Linked DNA regions of Homo sapiens: region 2 is linked to region 1. The links are contacts of gene promoters, found by promoter capture Hi-C in blood cells and fetal thymus (Javierre and others, 2016). All regions are on one chromosome and are shown on one strand. Each heading gives the region's core, a stretch centred on a gene start or on the middle of the fragment in contact. The rest is flanking DNA. Distances are from core to core; before and after follow the strand shown.

Region 1 (4,994 bases), core at 1,427-3,926:
TGCCCACCTAGCGTCCTTAGTCTCTCCTCTCTCTGACTCTCAGTCTCCCCCCTTCTCTCCCTCTCAGACTCCCCGACTTATCTCAGGAAAACATAGTGGTGGAAGTTACTTCTGCGCAGCGATAGCGCATCCGGAAGGATGTCAGCAAGTGACCCTATCGCTGTGGCTTCCTCTTCCTCCTCTGAGACGTTGTCTTTTTGGAGACCTTAAGGGCTGCTCCTGGTTTCTCAGTGATGAGTGCTGGCTCCACTGTGGTTCCTTTTTGTGAGCGAAATGCCCGCATTCTTCTTCACCTCTGATTTAGCCTCTGTCCCCTGGGCTCCAACACCATTTTCTCCTCATCCTCAGCCCTCTCTTGCTCTGGTTGCTCCAGATACATCTCTTCCATAAATGTTTTTTTTTTTCTTATTGCTTTTTTGTTTGTTTTTTGAGATGGAGTCTTGCTCTGTCGCCCAGGCTGGAGTGCAGTGATGCGATCTCGGCTCACTGCAACCTTTGCCTCCTGGGTTCAAGTGATTCTCCTGCTTCAGCCTCCCGATAGCTGAGATTACAGGCGTGTGCCATCGCACCTGGCTAATTTTTTGTATTTTTAGTAGAGACAGGGTTTCGCCATGTTGGCCAGGCTGGTCTCGAACTCCTGACCTCAGGTGATCCACCTGCCTTGGCCTCCCAAAGCACTGAGATTACAGGCATGAAACACCGCACCCAGCCTTATGTATATATATTTAATTAATAAAGCAAGTACTGCCAAGTGCAGCGGATCACGCCTGTAATCCCAGCACTTTGGGAGGCCAAGGCGGGCAGATCACCTGAGGTCAGTTTGAGACCATCCTTGCCAACATGGCGAAACCCTGTCTCTACTTAAAATACAAAAATTAGCTGGGTGTTGTGGCGGGCATCTATAATTCCAGCTACTTAGGAGGCTGAGGCAGGAGAATTGCTTGAACCCAGGAGGCAGAGGTTGCAGCGAGCCGAGATTGTGCCATTGCACTCCAGCCTGGGAGACAGAGCGAGACTCTTGTCTCAAAAAAAAAAAAAAAAAAAAAAAAAAAGCAAGTTCATTAGTTCATTGGCTTCCTGCTGGCCTCATGTTCACCCCTTACCAGTTGTGTGACTACTACTTTTTATTTTTTTGAGGCAGGGTCTACTCTATCACCCATACTGGAGTGCAGTGGTGCGACCATAACTCATTGCAGTCTCTAATTCCTGAGCTCAAACGATCCTCCTGCCTCAGCCTCCCGAGTAGCTGGGACTACAGACGCATGCCACCACACTTGGCTAATTTTTGTATTTTTTGTCGAGATGGGGTTTTGCCATGTTGCCCGAGCTGGTCTCAAATGACTACTTCATTTTTAAGCCTAAATTTTCTCATCTGTTTAGTGGGAATTATATTGGGACGGGGTTGAGAATTCAGTGCAAGTTCAGGTGTCCACAGGGCCTGGCAGAATGTAAGCCTTCGATCACTGGCACCTATTGTGTTACTGATTCTATTATCAGGTGCCTCTGCTTCTGGATTGTCAACCCCAAGTTGGGCTCTGCCCGGTGATCTGCCAGCTCTTTAATAGAACCAGCTGGGACATGTCTGAGCTGAGCCCCAAGCCCCACTCCTCTGCCAGTCGGATGGGGTTAGGACTCTGGGCTGCCCTCCAAAAGGCTGTCAGGAAGGCGCTGAGTTCTGGCTGGAGGCAGAAGTGGAGAGACTTACGGGGGGGCGCAGAAAGAAAAATTTCCTCTTAAATAGAGGCGTGTATTTGTGATTCTGCCTGGCTTGTTTCCATTCATCCTTCATGCTTCAGCTCAGCTAGCCCCTTCCTCAGGAAGCTCTCTTGACCTCCCTAGGCAGGGGTGGTTGCTTCCTCTGGACTCCCAGGGCCCTCTAGGGCTCCCTGATTCCAGGCTTGATCATTGTACCCTTGCTTCCCTCATCACAGCCCTGACCACTCTGGGCTGTCTTTTTTCTTTTTTTTAGAGATAGGGTCTCACTCTCTCCCAGGCATAGCTCACTGCAGCCTCGAACTCCTGGGCTCAAGCAATCCTCCGACCTCAGCCTCCCGAGTAGCTGGGACAACAGGCGTGGGTCACTCTTGTGTCAGTCTCCCAGTTAGACTGGGAGCCCCATGAATGCATGGCGCAGGATGGTCTCATCATTACTGAGTCTCCAGGATCATCCAGCGAGGGGTCAGCAGAAAGTGGGCATTGAACAAAGCTTTGGTGAGTAGCTGAGGATCCCCACTCTGTCCACACGGGCACAGGGGACACCTGACTCTGTGGTGTCCGCTGTTCCCACTCCGAGGCTCACAACTTGGCGAATGGAGCGAGAATTGGATTTCAGTTTGCCCCTTGCTCCGTCAGCCGCGCGCCCTGATGCAGTGCACAACCTTAGCTGCTGTGCGCGATGGGGGGCGACTCCTCGGCCTGCGAGCAGAGAGGAAAGTTCAGATTCTTCTAACATAGAGAACCAGCCTTCCAGGAGGACGAGAAGGAAGGAATGAGGGGAAGAGAGGACTACCTCCACCCTTTCCATCCCGTTGGTCTGCTGGGTCTGGGAGCACTGGGCTCCACCCTCTCCGAACGAACACCTGGCGGTTGGGCGTGCCTCAGTTTCCCGGAGGCGGGGCATTCCTCCGTCGCCGCCCCCCACCTCCCCTTTTTCCTCTTCCTCTTGGGGCATCTGCTGCCGCGCCTGTAGCACTCCCGGAACTGGAACTAGGTGCCAGACGGTCCGGAGGCGGGGGCCACGTCAGCGGGGCCACCCAGGGCTCGCGGGGTCCCGGTGGGTGCCATGCGGAGGGGCGCGCTTCTGGCGGGCGCCTTGGCCGCGTACGCCGCGTACCTGGTGCTGGGCGCGCTGTTGGTGGCGCGGCTGGAGGGGCCGCACGAAGCCAGGCTCCGAGCCGAGCTGGAGACGCTGCGGGCGCAGCTGCTTCAGCGCAGCCCGTGTGTGGCTGCCCCCGCCCTGGACGCCTTCGTGGAGCGAGTGCTGGCGGCCGGACGGCTGGGGCGGGTCGTGCTTGCTAACGCTTCGGGGTCCGCCAACGCCTCGGACCCCGCCTGGGACTTCGCCTCTGCTCTCTTCTTCGCCAGCACGCTGATCACCACCGTGGGTACGTAAGCGCCTCACCGCAAGGCGGCGAGGACCCGGGATCCCCACTTCATCCTTAACCCCTGGGGACCCCGGGGCCCTCACGAATACCCTTATCCCAATCCCCTCTGGGCTTCGGATCCCCCGAAAAGACCCCAGTGAGGACCCGGGACCCAGGCTCATGATATCTGCTCTGCTCGGGGAGCCCAAGTCCGAGCCCTTCCTCCTAAGTAGGAAACACCCAGCTCCCCTCAGAGTACCTTTGCAGAGACCAGCTGGGACCCCGTTCCTCGGTCTTTTTTTTTTTTCTTTTCTTTTTCTTTTTTTGAGACAGGGCTTACTCTGTCGCCCAGGCTGGAGTGCAGTGGCACGATCTCGGATCACGGCAGCCTCCGCCTCCCGGTTTCAAGCTATTCTCCTGCTTCAGCCTGCCGAGTAGCTGGGATTACAGGCACATACCACCATGCCTGGCTAATTTTTGTATTTTCAGTGGAGACGGAGTTTCACCATGTTGGCCAGGCTGGTCCCAAACTCCTGACTTCAGGTGATCAGCCCGCCTCGCCCTCCCAAATTGCTGGCATTACAGGCTTGAGCCACTGCACTGGGACTGCATTCCCCGGTCTTAATCCTCTTGGTGACCCGGGTCTGTCCAGCCCCCTCTAAGCCTAGGACTGTCCTCAGAGACCTCCAGCAAGGACCCAGGACACGCCACCCTCCAAGGGAGATCCTTGCCCCCTCTGGACCCAGAACTCAACCATGCCAGGACCCCTGACTTTATCTCTAGTCTGGGCCTGCCACCCTTGCCATGTCTCCTGACCCTCCAGATATGTCCTTCTGGGAAACCCCCCTGGAGAAACCCCATCTCAACCTCCTCCTGACCCTGGCGCCTTAGCGAGGACCCTAAATCTCCAGACCTCTCAGGGTGTCCTCACTAAAGACCTCCCTCCCAACAGAGATTCCTCAGCAAGGACCTGGCACCGCCATCTGGGACTCCTGGCCCTCTGGACCTGGGCCTCTGCTCCAGACTGTCATCTGTCTCCTGGCCCCATACTCCCCAGCAGGCAACTCTGACCCCAGACACAAAACCCTTCCCTAGGTACCCCACCCCATCTTGACATCTCCCCTATATGGGGTCACTCTCAATGCAGGATTTTCCTCCCAATAGGGACACCACCTGTTCCCTCTGGACCTGGGACTCCCAATTCAGCAGCCCCAGCTAGGGATGTGTCAAAAGGACCCACCGTGGAGGGACCCCGAGTTTTGGGAAACCCTGAGAAGCCAGACTTGGGAAATCTCTTTGTTGCCAGGCTCTGCTGCTCCCCCAGCCCCTTCTCAGCTCCCAGACTTCCTCTTTGTTTCTTTGTTGGGGATTTGTTGAGGAGAGGAGGCTGGTGCAGGGTTAGCCCAGACTCCTAACTCGCCCTCCCGGCCAACAATAGGGGGCAGCTTTTGCTTTTGGTCCCCTGGCAGCAGAGCTGGGTGACTTCTCGTTAGCTGACCTCCCCTGGGTCTGCCCATGCTGCCAGGGCGGCCTGACCTGCTTCTGAGCTTCCCTGGGTCATGTGCACGCCTCCTACCTCTTCCCAGATCCTGGCTTCTAAGAAGTCATCCCTGGCAGGGCAGATGAGGGAAGCCAGACACACGTCAGGCACAGCCTGGCTACATCCCTGCTCAGCCGCGGCTCATTGCCAGGCCTCAGTGTCCTCCCCCATTGCTAAAATGGAGATAATAACACTCCCCATTTCCCTGTAATAGCAGTAGCCTGACAGAGGACTTGCCAATGCATGCTTTAACTCACTTAATCATCACAACAGCCTTGTGAGGCAGGCGCCTTTATAGGCTGTATATTTTTAGCCATGGAAACCGAAGCCTAGAGAAGTTGGGTAACTTTCCTAAGGTCACACAGCAAAGA
Region 2 (4,994 bases), core at 1,028-3,527, 580 kb after region 1:
ATCACCATTTCTCACCTTGTCTAAGAAAATTCTAAGTCACTCTTCACTTATGCTGTGTCTGTATCTTGGTCTGACAGCTAGACCAGCCTGTGGATTCCTCCAGGGAATGGCCTGGCTAGAATCTTCTTTGACCCAGAAAATTTTCTCTGTGCTCCCACAGTACCCTGAGTTTCTTTACTTTTCTTCCTTTTTTTTTTTTTGAGACCGTGTTTTGCTCTGTCGCCCCGGTTGGGGTGCAGTGGCACAGTCAAGGCACACTACGGCCTTAACCTCCTGGGCTTAAGCAATCCTCCCCCAACTCAGCCTCCTGAGTAGCTGGCAATGCAGGCATGCACCACTACACATGGCTAATTTTTAAATATTTTGTAGAGGTGGGGGCCTCCCTATGTTGCCAAGACTGGTCTGGAACTCCTGGGCTCAAGCGATCCTCCTACCTCAGCCTCCCAAAGTACTGGGATTACAAGCATGAGCCACTGTGTCTGGCCCTGAGTTACTTTCTTTCTTTTTTACTTTTTAGAGAAAGGGTCTTGCTCTTTCACCCCGGCTGGAGTGCAGTGATGCAATCATAGCTCACTGCAGCCTCAAACTCCTGGGCTCAAGCGATCCTCGCGCCTCAGTCTCCTGAGTTATTGGAATTACAGGCATAAGCCACTGCATCTGGCCCCCTGAGTTACTTTCGTCATCACGCTGTGAGATCATTTTTTCCCATCACTTGTCCACGAGATCTGTGCGTTCCAAGACCAAATGGGATACCTGTCTCTTCCAGTCCCAGGACAAATGTGGTTCAGAAGGGATGGCAGGCAGTGGCAAGGAAGAAGGAAAGTTTGGGAGGACAGGCCTGGACTTGAGGCTGGAAACTCTTCTCTGACAATCCCCAGAATCTGCCTTTCCCCAGAAAGCTGCACTGGGTGGTGTGAGGGATTGGGGCAATGAGCCGAGGGCCCTGGGGTGACTGTTTCCCCTTTGCCACCTCCCCCCAGTGTGGGATGTGGAACAAGTCCGTCTCTCTCCTCCCCTCCACCCTTTCCCCCATCTCACCTGAGCCTCCTGCACCTTCCCTGCCTGGGTCTCCAGAGGGTGAGAGGCTGGGGGAGGGGAGCAGAGGTGGTTACAGTGGGGAGAACGATTAAGGGGGGAATAAAGGGGTTCAAATGGTCAGTGAGGGGGCAAGAACACCCACCAACCTAGTTACACTGGGATGGGATGGTGGTAAAAATGGAGCAGAGGGAGGGAGGGGACGGAGAAAAGATCTTATCTACATGCAAAGTGATGCCGGGAGAGGTGATTAGTGAGGGGCAGAGAGGCTGGAGAGGAAGATTTAGGGGGACAGGGAGAAAGTAGGGGCTTTTGCCCAGGCTGGTCTTGAACTCCTGGGCTCAAGCGATCCAACCACCTTGGCCTCCCAAAGTACTGGGATTACAAGCATGAGCCATTGTTTCTGGCCCTGACTTACTTTCTTTCTTTTTTACTTTTTAGAGAAAGGGTCTCGCTCATGTCACCCAGGTTGGAGTGCAATAGTGCGATCATAGCTCACTGCAGCCTCAAATTCCTGGGCTCAAGCGATCCTCCTCCTCCTACCTAGGGGATTCAGGGCATGAAGGAACACTCAGGAGGAGTTAGGAAGGACACGACAGTGTGTGAGTGTGTGTGCGGGGAGGGTTAGATTTACAAGGCAGAGGGAAGTTTAGAAAGGAAAAGAGAAGGGAAGAGACGCTTTGGCTGGGAGGCAGGTTTAGGAGGGAGGTGCAGTGGTGCAGTGGAGGCGGTAGGTTTAGGAGAGGCGCGGAACAAGGGGAAGCCATAGGAGGGGTCAGCAGGGGTCCCTCAGCATCCTCTGGTTGCCTCTAACAATCAGGTACCCATAGCAAGCGGGACCGGGGCAACTTATGTTCTTTGCAGCGAGGGACCTTAGCAACCAAGGTGCGAGAAACACGCGATCATTGGCAACTTGGCAAGTGGATGTGGTAAACGAACCCTGAACACACTGCGACCCAGAAACCCACCAGCCTAGCGATACAGATCGCTAAGCAACAGCCCTCAGAATCCCACTCCCCGAAGCGCTCCCTACTTCCCGCCCCACCGCGGCCACCCTTGGGCCCCGGGGCCTGCAGCATTCAGCCAGGCCCCGGCGCGGCCCGACCCTCCTACCCGGATCCCCGACTCACGGTCTGGCTCTGCCATGGGCGCGGTGCTGAAGCCCTTGAGGCTGTCACCGACCGCTCTGTCCCGTCACCAACCACTGTGTCCCGTCACCGACTGCTCTGTCCTGTCACCGACTGCTCTGTCCCGTGACGGCACCAGAAATGGGAGTGGCCGTGATAGGGCACAGAACTACAACTCTCAGCAGACATTGCGGCCGCAGACGCGCTTTCGTACAACACCCAGAGCGCCCCAGTTAGGTAAGAAAGCGCGCGAGGACCGGACTACGAGTCCCAGAAGGCGTGGCGTCAGCAGCCATGTTGGTAAAGGGCGCCCGGAAAATGTGGGAACGGCTAGAGAGTTGTAGTCCTCCCGAATACTCTGATTGGTCAGGATGCAGTACGAGGGCGGGGTGTGAGCGATTCAGCATATTATCATTGGGTGAATCAGGGGGCGTGGTGGGGAATTTCCCGCAGGGCGGAAGCTCCAGAACTCCCGGCAAAGCCCAGCTACAGGCGGGCGACTGCGGGGGGCCCCTGAGGCGGCGGGGGCCATGGCTGGGGTCGCGTGCTTGGGAAAAGCTGCCGACGCAGATGAATGGTGCGACAGCGGCCTGGGCTCCCTGGGTCCGGACGCAGCGGCCCCCGGAGGACCTGGGTTGGGCGCGGAGTTGGGCCCGGGGCTGTCGTGGGCTCCCCTCGTCTTCGGCTACGTCACTGAGGATGGGGACACGTGAGTGAACCTTAGGCTGCCAAACGGAGCCCTAGGACCCGGCGTCACATTCCTCATTAATCTCTGATCCCTGAGGCTTCCTAACCTCATACTCCTAAATCTGACTTCCGATGCTGAACTTCCTGACCTCTAACCCCCGAGTCCTAACTTTTAACAAAACCAATCTTCTATCTAGCTATGATCCTAACCCAATCATTTCTTACCTTCTTTTCTTGAACTATGATTCTCAGCTCCTGGAATCCACATTGTATCCACTGATACCCAAACCTGACTCCAGTCCTGAGACTTCTGTTAGAACTGTGGCTTCTCCTGACTTCTAACCTCCAAATATGATCTTTGATTCTTAGTTCCCGATTTGAGCCCTAGAGTTTGATTTCCGAAATTAATACTTGGTCCCTGACTCTAAGATCCTGTCTTCTGAGCAGTGTTCTTCAAATCTTAAATTCAAAGAGAGAGAATGTAAGCTCTTCTATGTTGAATTCCTAATTAAAGTAAAAAAATAGGAAAATTAAAAAAAAGAATGTTAGCTCCATGAGACCAAGGATTCATCTGTTAAACAAATATTCTTTACACATTACCACGTTCCAGGCTCCGTTTAGGTGCTAGTGATAAAGGCAGTGAAGAAAACAAACAAAAACTTAAGCCCTTGTGGAGCATACATTTTAGTGGAGCTAAATAAACAGATTGATAAGACCACAAGGAAGGAAAGAAATGGAAAGACAGGAAGAAACAAAGAAAGACACGCAGAAAGAAAGAAACATAGAAAGTAAGAAAAGGAAATAAAGTCAGAGGTAGTTAAGTACTTTGGAGAAAAATAAAGCAGGAAAATGAGGCAATAGATAAACAAGATAAGAGCATTTCAAGGAGAAGGAACTGCAGTTGCAAAGGCCCAGATGAGGGATTGTACTGGGTTTTTTGTCTGTTGTGTTTACTGCTGTATGCCCAGTGATGCAAGCAGGGCCTGATCCAGGAGGCACTGAATATTGATCTCAACCAGCTTTATAGTCTCGTTAATTTTCATTAAATTTCATTAATTAATTTTGGTTTCATTAATTTTTTTTTACTTTCTATTCAATTGGTCTCTGTTCTGACTTTTTTTTTTGAAACGAAGTCTCACTCTGTCGCCCAGGCTGGAGTGCAGTGGCATGATCATGGCTTACTATAGCCACAACCTCCTGGCTCAAGTGATCCTTGCACCTCAGCCTCCTGAGTAGCTGGGACCACAGGCACATGCCACCATGCCTGGCAAATTTTTAAATTTTTTTGTCCCCCTATGTTCTCAAACTCTTTTTTTTTTTTTGAGACAGAGTCTTGTTCTGTCACCCAGGCTGGAGTATAGTGGCACTATCTCTGCTCGCTGAAACCTCTGACTCCTGGGTTTAAGCAGTTCTACTGCCTCAGCCTCCCAAATTTGGGATTACAGGCACGTGCCCCCACACCTGGCTAATTTTTGTATTTTTAGTAGCAACAGCAGTTTCACCATGTTGGCCAGGCTGGTCTCAAACTCCTGACCTCAGGTGATCCACCCGCTGTGGCCTCTCAGAGTGCTGGGATTACAGGTGTGAGCCACTGTGTGCAGCTGTGGTCTCAAACTCTTGAGCTCAAGCATTCTTCCCACCTTGGCCTCCCAAAGTGCTGGGTTACAGGGATGAACCACTGTGCCCAGACAGTCTCTGCCTTTTAATTAGTGTTTAGACCATTTACATTTAATTTGATATTGATATGATTGTGTAAATTTATCCCATGTCTATTATATATATTCTACTTACCTATGTTTTCTTTTTCCTCCCTCCTTTTTGCCTTTTATTGGGTATAGTTTTTGTTACTTTTTTTTCAATCCTGCTCCTTCTGTATAGTGTTTTTCATTTTATTTCTTTTTTTTTTTTTGAGATGGAGTCTCGCTCTGTCACCCAGGCTGGAGTGCAGTGGTGCAATCTCGGCTCACTGCAAGCTCCGCCTCCCAGGTTCATGCCATTCTCCTGCCTCAGCCTCCCGAGTAGCTGGGACTACAGGCACCTGCCACTTCGCCTGGCTAATTTTTTTTGTATTTTTAGTAGAGACGGGGTTTCACCGTGGTCTTGATCTCCTGACCTTGTGATCCGCCCGCCTCGGCTTCCCAAAGT

What was found. The method cuts DNA at HindIII sites, captures the fragments that hold promoters and counts their contacts. A CHiCAGO score of 5 or more calls a contact.
Region 2: a contact is called between the fragment with the promoter of SIRT2 here and the fragment with the promoter of KCNK6 in region 1, in 1 of 17 cell types (neutrophils). The highest score is 6.2, in neutrophils.

Annotation. Positions count from the first base shown.
Region 1 is chr19:38,317,169-38,322,162 of GRCh38, forward strand. It overlaps KCNK6 (potassium two pore domain channel subfamily K member 6), which reads left to right and starts at 2,677. Exons shown (of 3, transcript NM_004823.3): 1 at 2,677-3,104. The coding sequence starts at 2,783. It also overlaps a transcript of YIF1B not described here. RefSeq lists an enhancer at 2,505-3,128 and a silencer at 2,770-2,859. The HindIII fragment of the contact is 18,756 bases long and covers 2,205-4,994 here.
Region 2 is chr19:38,897,341-38,902,334 of GRCh38, forward strand. SIRT2 (sirtuin 2) reads right to left here and starts at 2,278. Exons shown (of 16, transcript NM_012237.4): 1 at 2,166-2,278; 2 at 1,039-1,085. The coding sequence starts at 2,181. NFKBIB (NFKB inhibitor beta) reads left to right here and starts at 2,629. Exons shown (of 6, transcript NM_002503.5): 1 at 2,629-2,871. The coding sequence starts at 2,693. The HindIII fragment of the contact is 23,515 bases long and covers 1-4,994 here.